Linked DNA regions of Homo sapiens: region 2 is linked to region 1. Evidence: promoter capture Hi-C in 16 types of primary human blood cells and fetal thymus (Javierre and others, 2016). All regions are on one chromosome and are shown on one strand. The core of a region is centred on a gene start or on the middle of the fragment in contact, and the rest is flanking DNA. Distances in the headings are between cores, read along the strand shown.

Evidence for each region. The method cuts DNA at HindIII sites, captures the fragments that hold promoters and counts their contacts. A CHiCAGO score of 5 or more calls a contact.
Region 2: a fragment that was not itself captured here is called in contact with the fragment with the promoter of MUC5B-AS1 in region 1 in 1 of 17 cell types (M0 macrophages); the score reaches 5.1 in M0 macrophages.

The regions. Positions count from the first base shown.
Region 1 is chr11:1,247,904-1,251,276 of GRCh38, reverse strand. It overlaps MUC5B-AS1 (MUC5B antisense RNA 1), which reads left to right and starts at 1,601. Exons shown (of 2, transcript NR_157183.1): 1 at 1,601-1,656. It overlaps MUC5B (mucin 5B, oligomeric mucus/gel-forming), which reads right to left. Exons shown (of 49, transcript NM_002458.3): 31 at 1-3,373. The HindIII fragment of the contact is 25,137 bases long and covers 1-3,373 here.
Region 2 is chr11:1,490,760-1,495,728 of GRCh38, reverse strand. No RefSeq gene overlaps it. Among named protein-coding and RNA genes, the nearest start is that of MOB2, 6.5 kb to the right of the region's middle. The HindIII fragment of the contact is 246 bases long and covers 2,760-3,005 here.

The DNA.
Region 1 (3,373 bases), core at 352-2,851:
ATGGTGGCTGTGGTGGTCAGCACTGTGGAGGTGTGGGTGGTCTCTGGAGTAGAGGAGGTGTGGATTGTGGACATGGTGGACATGGGTGTGGTGGTCTGTGCTGGGACGGTCCACGTGGTCCACAGGGTGGAGGAGGGGATGGGTGTAAAGCTGGTAGCTGTGGATTTTGTGGCTGTGCTTGTCAGCACTGGAAGGGTGGTTGCAGTCCTTGGACTGGAGGAGGAAGTGGCTTTGGAGCTGGTGGCTGCGGGTGTGGTGGCCGTGCTGGTCAGCACTGGGGTGATGGGTGTTGTCCCTGGAGTTGAGGAGGGGTTGGTGGTGGAGCCGGTGGCCGTGATCGTAGTGGCCGTGGTGGTCAGTGATGGGGGAGTACCACTGGTCTGTGTGCTAGAGGAGGGTGTTGCCATAGAACCAGTGGCCACAGTTGTGGTGGTGGTGGTCAGCACTCTGGCGGTGTGGGTGGTCCCCGGGATGGAGGAGGGGGTCACCGTGGAGCCACTGGTTGTGGGTGTGGTGGTTGTGGGTGTGGTGGTTGTGCTGATCCACACTGGAGGCGTGAGTGCCGTCCCTGGGCTGGAGGAGGGGGTGGCTGTGAAGCCCGTGGTTGTGGTAGTCGGCACTTTGGTAGTGTGAGCTGTTCCTGGGGTGGAGGAGGGGGTGGCCACAGAGCCGGTGGCCCCGGTTGTGGTGGCCGTGGCGGTAAGCACTGTGGAGGTGTGGACAGTCTCTGGAGTGGAGGAGGGTGTGGCTGTGGACATGGTGGCCGTGGGTGTGGTGGTCTGTGATAGGCGGGTCCAGGTGGTGCCCAGGGAGGAGGAGGGGATGGCTGTAAAGCTGGTAGCTGTGGGTGTGGTGGCTGTGCTTCTCAGTGCTGGAAGGGCAGTTGCAGTCCCTGGACTGGAGGAGGGAGTGGCTTTGGAGCTGGTGACTGTGGGTGTCGTGGCCGTGGTGCTCACATGTGGGGTGCCAGCAGTTGCCTGGGTGGAGGAGGCGGTGGCCGTGGATCCGGTGGGCACCGTCACGGTGGCTGTAGTGCTCGGCTCTGTGAGGATCCAGGTGGTCCCTGGGGTGGAGGACGGGGTGGCCGTGGATCCAGTGGACGCAGTCGTAGTGGCTGTTGTGGTCAGCTCTGTGAGGATCCAGGTGGTCCCTGGGGTGGAGGACGGGGTGGCCGTGGGGCCAGTGGCTGCAGTTGTAGTGGCTGCTGTGGTCAGCTCTGTGAGGATCCAGGTCGTCCCCGGAGTGGAGGAGGGGGTGGACGTGGAACTGGTGGCCCTTGTCGTGGTGGCCTTCGTGGTCAGCACTGTGGAGGTGTGGGTGGTCTCCGGAGTGGAGGAGGGGTGGATTGTGGACATGGTGGCCACGGGTGTGGTGGTCTGTTCTGGGAGGGTCCCGGTGGTCCCAAGGGTGGAGGAGGGGATGGGTGTAACGCTGGTAGCTGTGGATTTGGTGGCTGTGCTTGTCAGCACTGGAAGGGTGGTTGCAGTCCTTGGACTGGAGGAGGAAGTGGCTTTGGAACTGGTGGCTGTGGGTGTGGTGGCCGGGCTGGTCAGCACTTTGGGAGGGGGAGCTGTTCCCGGGGTGGAGGACGGGGTGGCCGTGGATCCAGTGGATGCAGTCGTAGTGGCTGTTGTGGTCAGCTCTGTGAGGATCCAGGTCGTCCCCGGAGTGGAGGAGGGCATGGCCGTAGAGCTGGTGGCCGGGGTGCTGGGGCAGTGGCCGTAGTTGCAGCAGAACACACGGATTTCATAGTTGAAGCACATCTTGAACTTCCCCACCTGCTCACGGTTCCTGCAGACCAGGCCAAAGTCCAGGCTGCATTCCACGACCTGGCCCAACTCCCCCAGGGGGACACCAGGCTGGGCCTGGGCACGGCACTCGAGGCCCAGGGGCTGCTCACAGACGGCCCCTCCGGCCGCACGGATGTTGGAGTAGGTGTCAAAGTCCCCGCCAGAGGGCCCCGGCATGGGGTAGCTGTAGTCCAGCCACTCTGACCAGGCACACTGGGGCTCACAGCCCGTGGTCACCACCGTGGTTATGGGGGCCGATGTGGGGCTGCTGGGCAGCAGGGTCGAGGTGCGGGTCTTGCTGGGTGTGGCCGTGGCCGTGGTCCTGGAGGTGGCCGTGGTGTGGCCCGGGGTGGTCGTCCCTGGGGAAGGGGGTGACTCGGTGGTCCTGCTGCTAGGGTGAGGGCTGGACAGGGCTGGAGTCGAGTGCTGGGTGGTACCGGTGGTTGCTGCTGGGGTGTGGGAAGTCCCCGTGGAAGGCTCTGTGATGTGGGTGGTGCCCAAGGTGCCTGAGGTGGCCGAAGTCCAGGCTGTGCGCACCGTGTGGGGACTGCTGGGGGACAGGGATCGCCCGTGTGTGGTGGCCGTGGTGTTCGGCACTGGGGGTGTGTGGGTGGTCCCTAGGGCAGAGGAGGGAGTCACTGTGCTGCTGGTGGCTGCAGGTGTGGTGGCGGTGGTGGTCAGCACTGGGGGGATAGGTGTTGTCCCTGGAGTTGAGGAGGGGTTGGTGGTGGAGCCGGTGGCCGTGATCGTAGTGGCCGTGGTGATCAGTGATGGGGGAGTACCACTGGTCTGTGTGCTAGAGGAGGGTGTTGCCATAGAACCAGTGGCCACAGTTGTGGTGGTGGTGGTCAGCACTGTGGGGGTGTGGGTGGTCCCCGGGACGGAGGAGGGGGTCACCGTGGAGCCACTGGTTGTGGGTGTGGTGGTTGTGCTGATCCACACTGGAGGCGTGCGTGCCGTCCCTGGGCTGGAGGAGGGGGTGACTGTGAAGCCCGTGGTTGTGGTAGTCGGCACTTTGGTAGTGTGAGCTGTTCCTGGGGTGGAAGAGGGGGTGGCCACAGAGCCGGTGGCCCTGGTTGTGGTGGCCGTGGTGGTAAGCACTGTGGAGGTGTGGGCAGTCTCTGGAGTGGAGGAGGGTGTGGCTGTGGACATGGTGGCCGTGGGTGTGGTGGTCTGTGATAGGCGGGTCCAGGTGGTGCCCAGGGAGGAGGAGGGGATGGCTGTAAAGCTGGTAGCTGTGGGTGTGGTGGCTGTGCTTCTCAGTGCTGGAAGGGCGGTTGCAGTCCCTGGACTGGAGAAGGGAGTGGCTTTGGAGCTGGTGACTGTGGGTGTCGTGGCCGTGGTGCTCACATGTGGGGTGCCAGCAGTTGCCTGGGTGGAGGAGGCGGTGGCCGTGGATCCGGTGGGCACCGTCACGGTGGCTGTAGTGCTCGGCTCTGTGAGGATCCAGGTGGTCCCTGGGGTGGAGGACGGGGTGGCCGTGGATCCAGTGGACTCAGTCGTAGTGGCTGTTGTGGTCAGCTTTGTGAGGATCCAGGTCGTCCCCGGAGTTGAGGAGGGCGTGGCCGTAGAGCTGGTGGCCG
Region 2 (4,969 bases), core at 1,633-4,132, 240 kb before region 1:
AGGTAAGTCTTGAAATTCGTGTGAGTCCTGCTACTTGGGTCTTCTTTTGCAAGAATGGTTGGATCCTTCAAAGTCCTTTTGCATTTCCACGTGGATTTAAGAATCCTCTTGTTAGGCCGGGCGTGGTGGCTCATGCTTGTAATCCCGGCACTTTGCGAGGCTGAGGTGGGCAGATCACCTGAGGTCAGGAGTTCGAGACCAGCCTGGCCAACATGGTGAAACCCCGTCTCTACTAAAAATACCAAAAATTAGCTGGGTATGGTGGCGGGTGCCTGTAATCCCAGCTACTGAGGAGGCTGAGACAGGAGAATCACTTGAACCCGGGAGGCAGAGGTTGCAGTGAGCTGAGATTGTGCCATTGCACTCTAGCCTGGGTAAGAAGAGTGAAACTCCGTCTCAAAACAAACAAACAAAAAACAAACAAAAAACCAAGAATCTTCTTGTTAATTTCTTTTAAAAATAAGAAATTATCCCGGGATTTTGATAGGATTGTATTTAATTAAGAAAATTGACATCTTAACAATATTGAGTCTTCTAATCCATGGCCATGGCAAATTTTTTTATGTGTTTAGGTCTTTAATTTTTCTCAGCATTGTTTTGTGCTTTTCAGTGAGAGGCTTTGTACATTTGTGTTAAGATTATTCCTAAATTTAAAAATTATATTGTAAATAGCAGTTTTATAATTGTATTTTCCATTTATTTGTTGCTATTATATAGGAATAAAATTAATTTTCTTTACTGACCTTGTGCCCTGTGATGCCACTAAATTTACTTATTAGTTCTAGCAGACTTGCCCCAGTTTCCTTAGACTTTTCTGTTTACATAACCATGTTACCTGCCAAACAAGACGACCTTTTCCTTTCCAGTATTTATGCCTTGTATACCTTTGTCTTGCCTCATTACAGTGGCCTCATTGTGCCGCTGGTATAAGAGTGACACCGAATAAGAGTGGTGAGAGTGAGAAGTGCTCAGAGCCCCTTCCTTGTTTCTGATTTTAGGGGGAAAATCTTTACTCCATCAGCAGCATTTGATGTTAGCTTCAGATTTTTTATAGGTGTCCTTTCTCAGCTGAGGATGGTCCCTTCTGTTCCTGGTTTGCTGAGAGTTTGCATACACGTTTTGCCATGTGCTGTGTCTGCATCTAATTGAGATGGCCATATTTTTTTCTCCTTTCATTAATGTGGTGAATGACATTGATTTTCAGGTGTTAGCTAAGCTTACATTACTGGGTGAATCTCTCTTGGCTATGCTGTATTATCCTTTCAATACGTTGTTGAATTAGTTTGTTACTATTTTATTACAGAGTTTTGCATCCACATTCATGAAGGATATTGGGCTGTAATTTCCCTTTTCTAGGAATGCTGTTGTCTCACTTTGGCAGCAGCATTATGCTGGTCCTCCTCCTCTGTTTTCTGAAAGAGTATGTGTATGGTTTGTATTATTTCTTACTTATATCGTGTGTAGAGTTCATCCGTAAGCCACCTGCACCCACCATTTCCTTGTAGAAAGATTTTTAATTATAAATTCAGATTTTCTACTTCTTTGTATGTCAGTTTTGGTAGCTTGTGTTTGTGAAAAATTTGTCTGTTTCATCTACATTTTCTCTTGGCATTCAGTTCCTTATAGTGCTTTGTTACCCGCTTAATATCTGTAGGATCTGTAGGAATGTCCCTTTCATTTCTGATATCGGTAATTTATGCCCTCTTCCTCTCTTGGCTCTCTGTCTCTTTTCTGCTTAGTCTGCTTGGGAAATTGATCTTTTTTTTTTTTTAAGTTTTCCAGGCTAACTTTGTGTTTAATTCTTCATTATTTGTCTATTTTTCATTTCATAGATTTCTGTTATTTCCTTCCACTTTGCATTTAATATGCACTTCCTTTTTCTGGCTTCTGAAGGTGGATGTATGAATCACTCATTTTAAGCCTTCTCTCCTAATATGAACATTTATAAATTTCTTCCTCAGCTGAGCTTTAGCTGCATTCTACACATTTTTATAAGTGATGTTTTTATTGTAATCTTCTCTTTAGCACTGTTTAATCTGATGTTCATTTCATCTCAAAAATTTCATTTTCGATGTATTCTTCAGTTCCAGGAATTTTTGTTTATTATTTTGTGGAGTTTCCGATTTTTTCAGAGCCCTAATTGCTTTGTTGATTATGTCCAACCTTTCCTCTAAATCTTTGGATATATTGGCCGGGCACAATGTCTCATGCCAGTAATCCCAGCACTTTTGGGAGGCCAAGGCGGACAGATTACTTTAGGTGAGGAGTTTGAGACCAGCGTAGCCAACATGGTGAAACCTCATCTCTACAAAAATACAAAAATTAGCTGTGCTTGGTGGCGTTCGCCTGTAATCCCAGCTGCTCTGGAGGCTGAGGCAGGAGAATCACTTGGGAGACAGAGGTTGCAGTGAGCCGAGATTGTGCCACTGCACTCCAGCCCGGGCAATAGAGGACACTGTCTAAATAAATAAATAAATCGTTGAATATATTTATTTCATTCTTTTAAAGTCTTTGTTTGTTACTTTCATTATCTTTGTTATCTCTAGGCCTGTTTCTGTTGACTTATTTTTCCTGGTTATGAGTTACATTTTTCTGCTTCACCTGTCTAGTAATTTTTTTGTACACTAGGTATTGTGGTAGCAATGTTGTTGAAAGTCTCAGTTCTGTTTTCCTCCCTTAAAGAGTAGTGTGGTTTGTTCTGGAAGGCAGTTAATTTGCTCTTGGTTAGCTAGGATCCGTTTGAGGCTTGTTTTTAAGCTTTATTATGCCAGGTCCAGAGAACCCCCTCACTCTGGGCTATTGTAGCCCAGTCCCCATGGCACAGCCATTGTGGAATCTCTGTTAAATCTATTCGCCCAAGGTGTCTCCAGTCTGGGTGTGGGAACACGTCTGTCTCCTGCCCCGTGTGGCCTCCAGAACCTCTCTTCCTCACGCTTCCCAGAGCTGTTCTCTGCCAGGTCTTGCAGATGTTCTCTCTGACACCCTCAGCTATTTGTCCAGAAGCTTCCTTGGATCCCTGTTGATGTTTTTAGAGTCCCTTCTCTGTGCAGCTCTGTCCTGACTGCCTCCTCATCCTGCAAATTTCAACAGCTCAGCGGCTTGAGACTTCCATCCCTGCCACCTCAGCTTCTCCAGACTGCAGGCCCCATGTGGTTTCACCATCCCCACCTGCAGCCTGAGAGGCTCCCAGTCATCGCCTGTGCGCAGGGGCCACCGTCCTGCACGGCGGTATCCTGGGTCTGAAGCCAAGCACTTCATATATTCTACCCAGTTTGTAGTTGTTGACAGTGGAGGTGAGGTCCAGTGTCAGTTACTCTGTCATGAGTGGAAGCAGAAATCTCTTCTTTCCTTTATTATTTTAAGAAATTCTTCCTTCCCATCTTCTACTTGGACATCATGGTGGTTTTTGTATTCTAATTTAGACTTCATTTCAAAAATGGTTTATCCTCTCATTCCTGATTCTTATTTTGCCTCTTTTTTCAAATATTTTCTTTTTCTTTTTTCTTTTCTTTTTTGAGACAAAGTCTCGCTCTTCTCCCCCAGGCTGGAGCGCAATGGTGCAATCTCGGCTCACTGCAACGTCCATCTCCTGGGTTCAAGCGATTCTTCTGCCTCAGCCTCCCAAGTAGCTGGGATTACAAGCGCCTGCCACCACGCCCAGCTAATTTTTGTATTTTTAGTAGAGACAGAGTTTCACCTTGTTGGCCAGGCTGGTCTTGAACTCCTGACCTCAGGTGATCCACCTGCCTCAGCCTCCCAAAGTGCTGGGATTACAGGCATGAGCCACTGCACCTGGCCTCAAATATTTTCTTAAATTGCATTGTTTCCCTGATTGTCTTATTGGGTTGTAGTCTTCATCTGTGTTATGTGTCTTCATCTGTGTTGTGTCTTCATCTTTGTTGTGTGTCTTCATCTGTGTTCTGTGTCATCTGTGTTGTGTGTCTTCGTCTGTGTTGTGTGTCTTTGTGTGTCTTCATCTGTTATGCGCGTGTCTTCGTCTGTGTTGTGCGTCTTCATCTGTTGTATGTCTTCACCTGTGTTGTGTGTCTTCACCTGTGTTAATGTGTGTGTCTTCATCTGTGTTGTGTCTTCGTCTGTGTTGTGTGTCTTCGTCTGTGTTGTGTGTCTTCACCTGTGTTATGTGTGTGTCTTCGGCTGTGTTGTATATCTTCGTCTGTGTTGTGTGTCTTTGTCTGTGTTGTGTGTCTCCGCCTGTGTTATATGTATGTCTTCGTCTGTGTTGTGTGTCTCTGCCTGTGTTATGTGTATGTCTTCGTCTGTGTTGTGTGTCTTCATCTGTGTTGTGTGATTTCGTCTGTGTTATGTGTGTGTCTTTCTGGGATGTTTTAATTGTCAGTGGGAGAGTGTTACTCTCCTCTATTCTTCTTGATTTTCATTGGACTCAACTGTGAAACTTTCCTGCTTGCTTTTAAGTGACCCCACTTTCCCTGTGCCTTTGTGAGGGTGCCGGGGGCATTGTTTTGCTGCTTCCGTAGCTTTTGAGCTCCTTCTTCTGTTGTTTTCACAAAGTGATTAAAAACACGAAGCTCTCCACGAGTCTCCTTGTTGGAGGGGAGGCTACAGACGAGCAAGTGGAGGGGCCAGTGTGGTCCAGGCAGTGATGGCTGCAGGGGTGGGCTGGAGACCTCAGGGGAACCCCTGCTTAGCTTAGTATAGATACAAATGTCGACATGTGGGTGGAGATTGAGGCGTATGAGTGCATGTGTGTATACACATGTGCCTCCGTGTTCTTCCAGCTGAGAGGGCCTGGAAGCAGTGACACCCACTAGCAACGAGCCCACCCAGTGCTCTGATCTTAGTGTTTTCGTTTCTCGTTTGTGTAGACCCAGGCTGGAGTGAGGTGGTGTAGTCATGGTTCACTGCAGCCACCAACCTCCTGGGCTCAAGTGATCCTCTCACTTCAGCTCCTCAGTTGTTGAAACCACAGGCACATGCCACTATGCCCAGA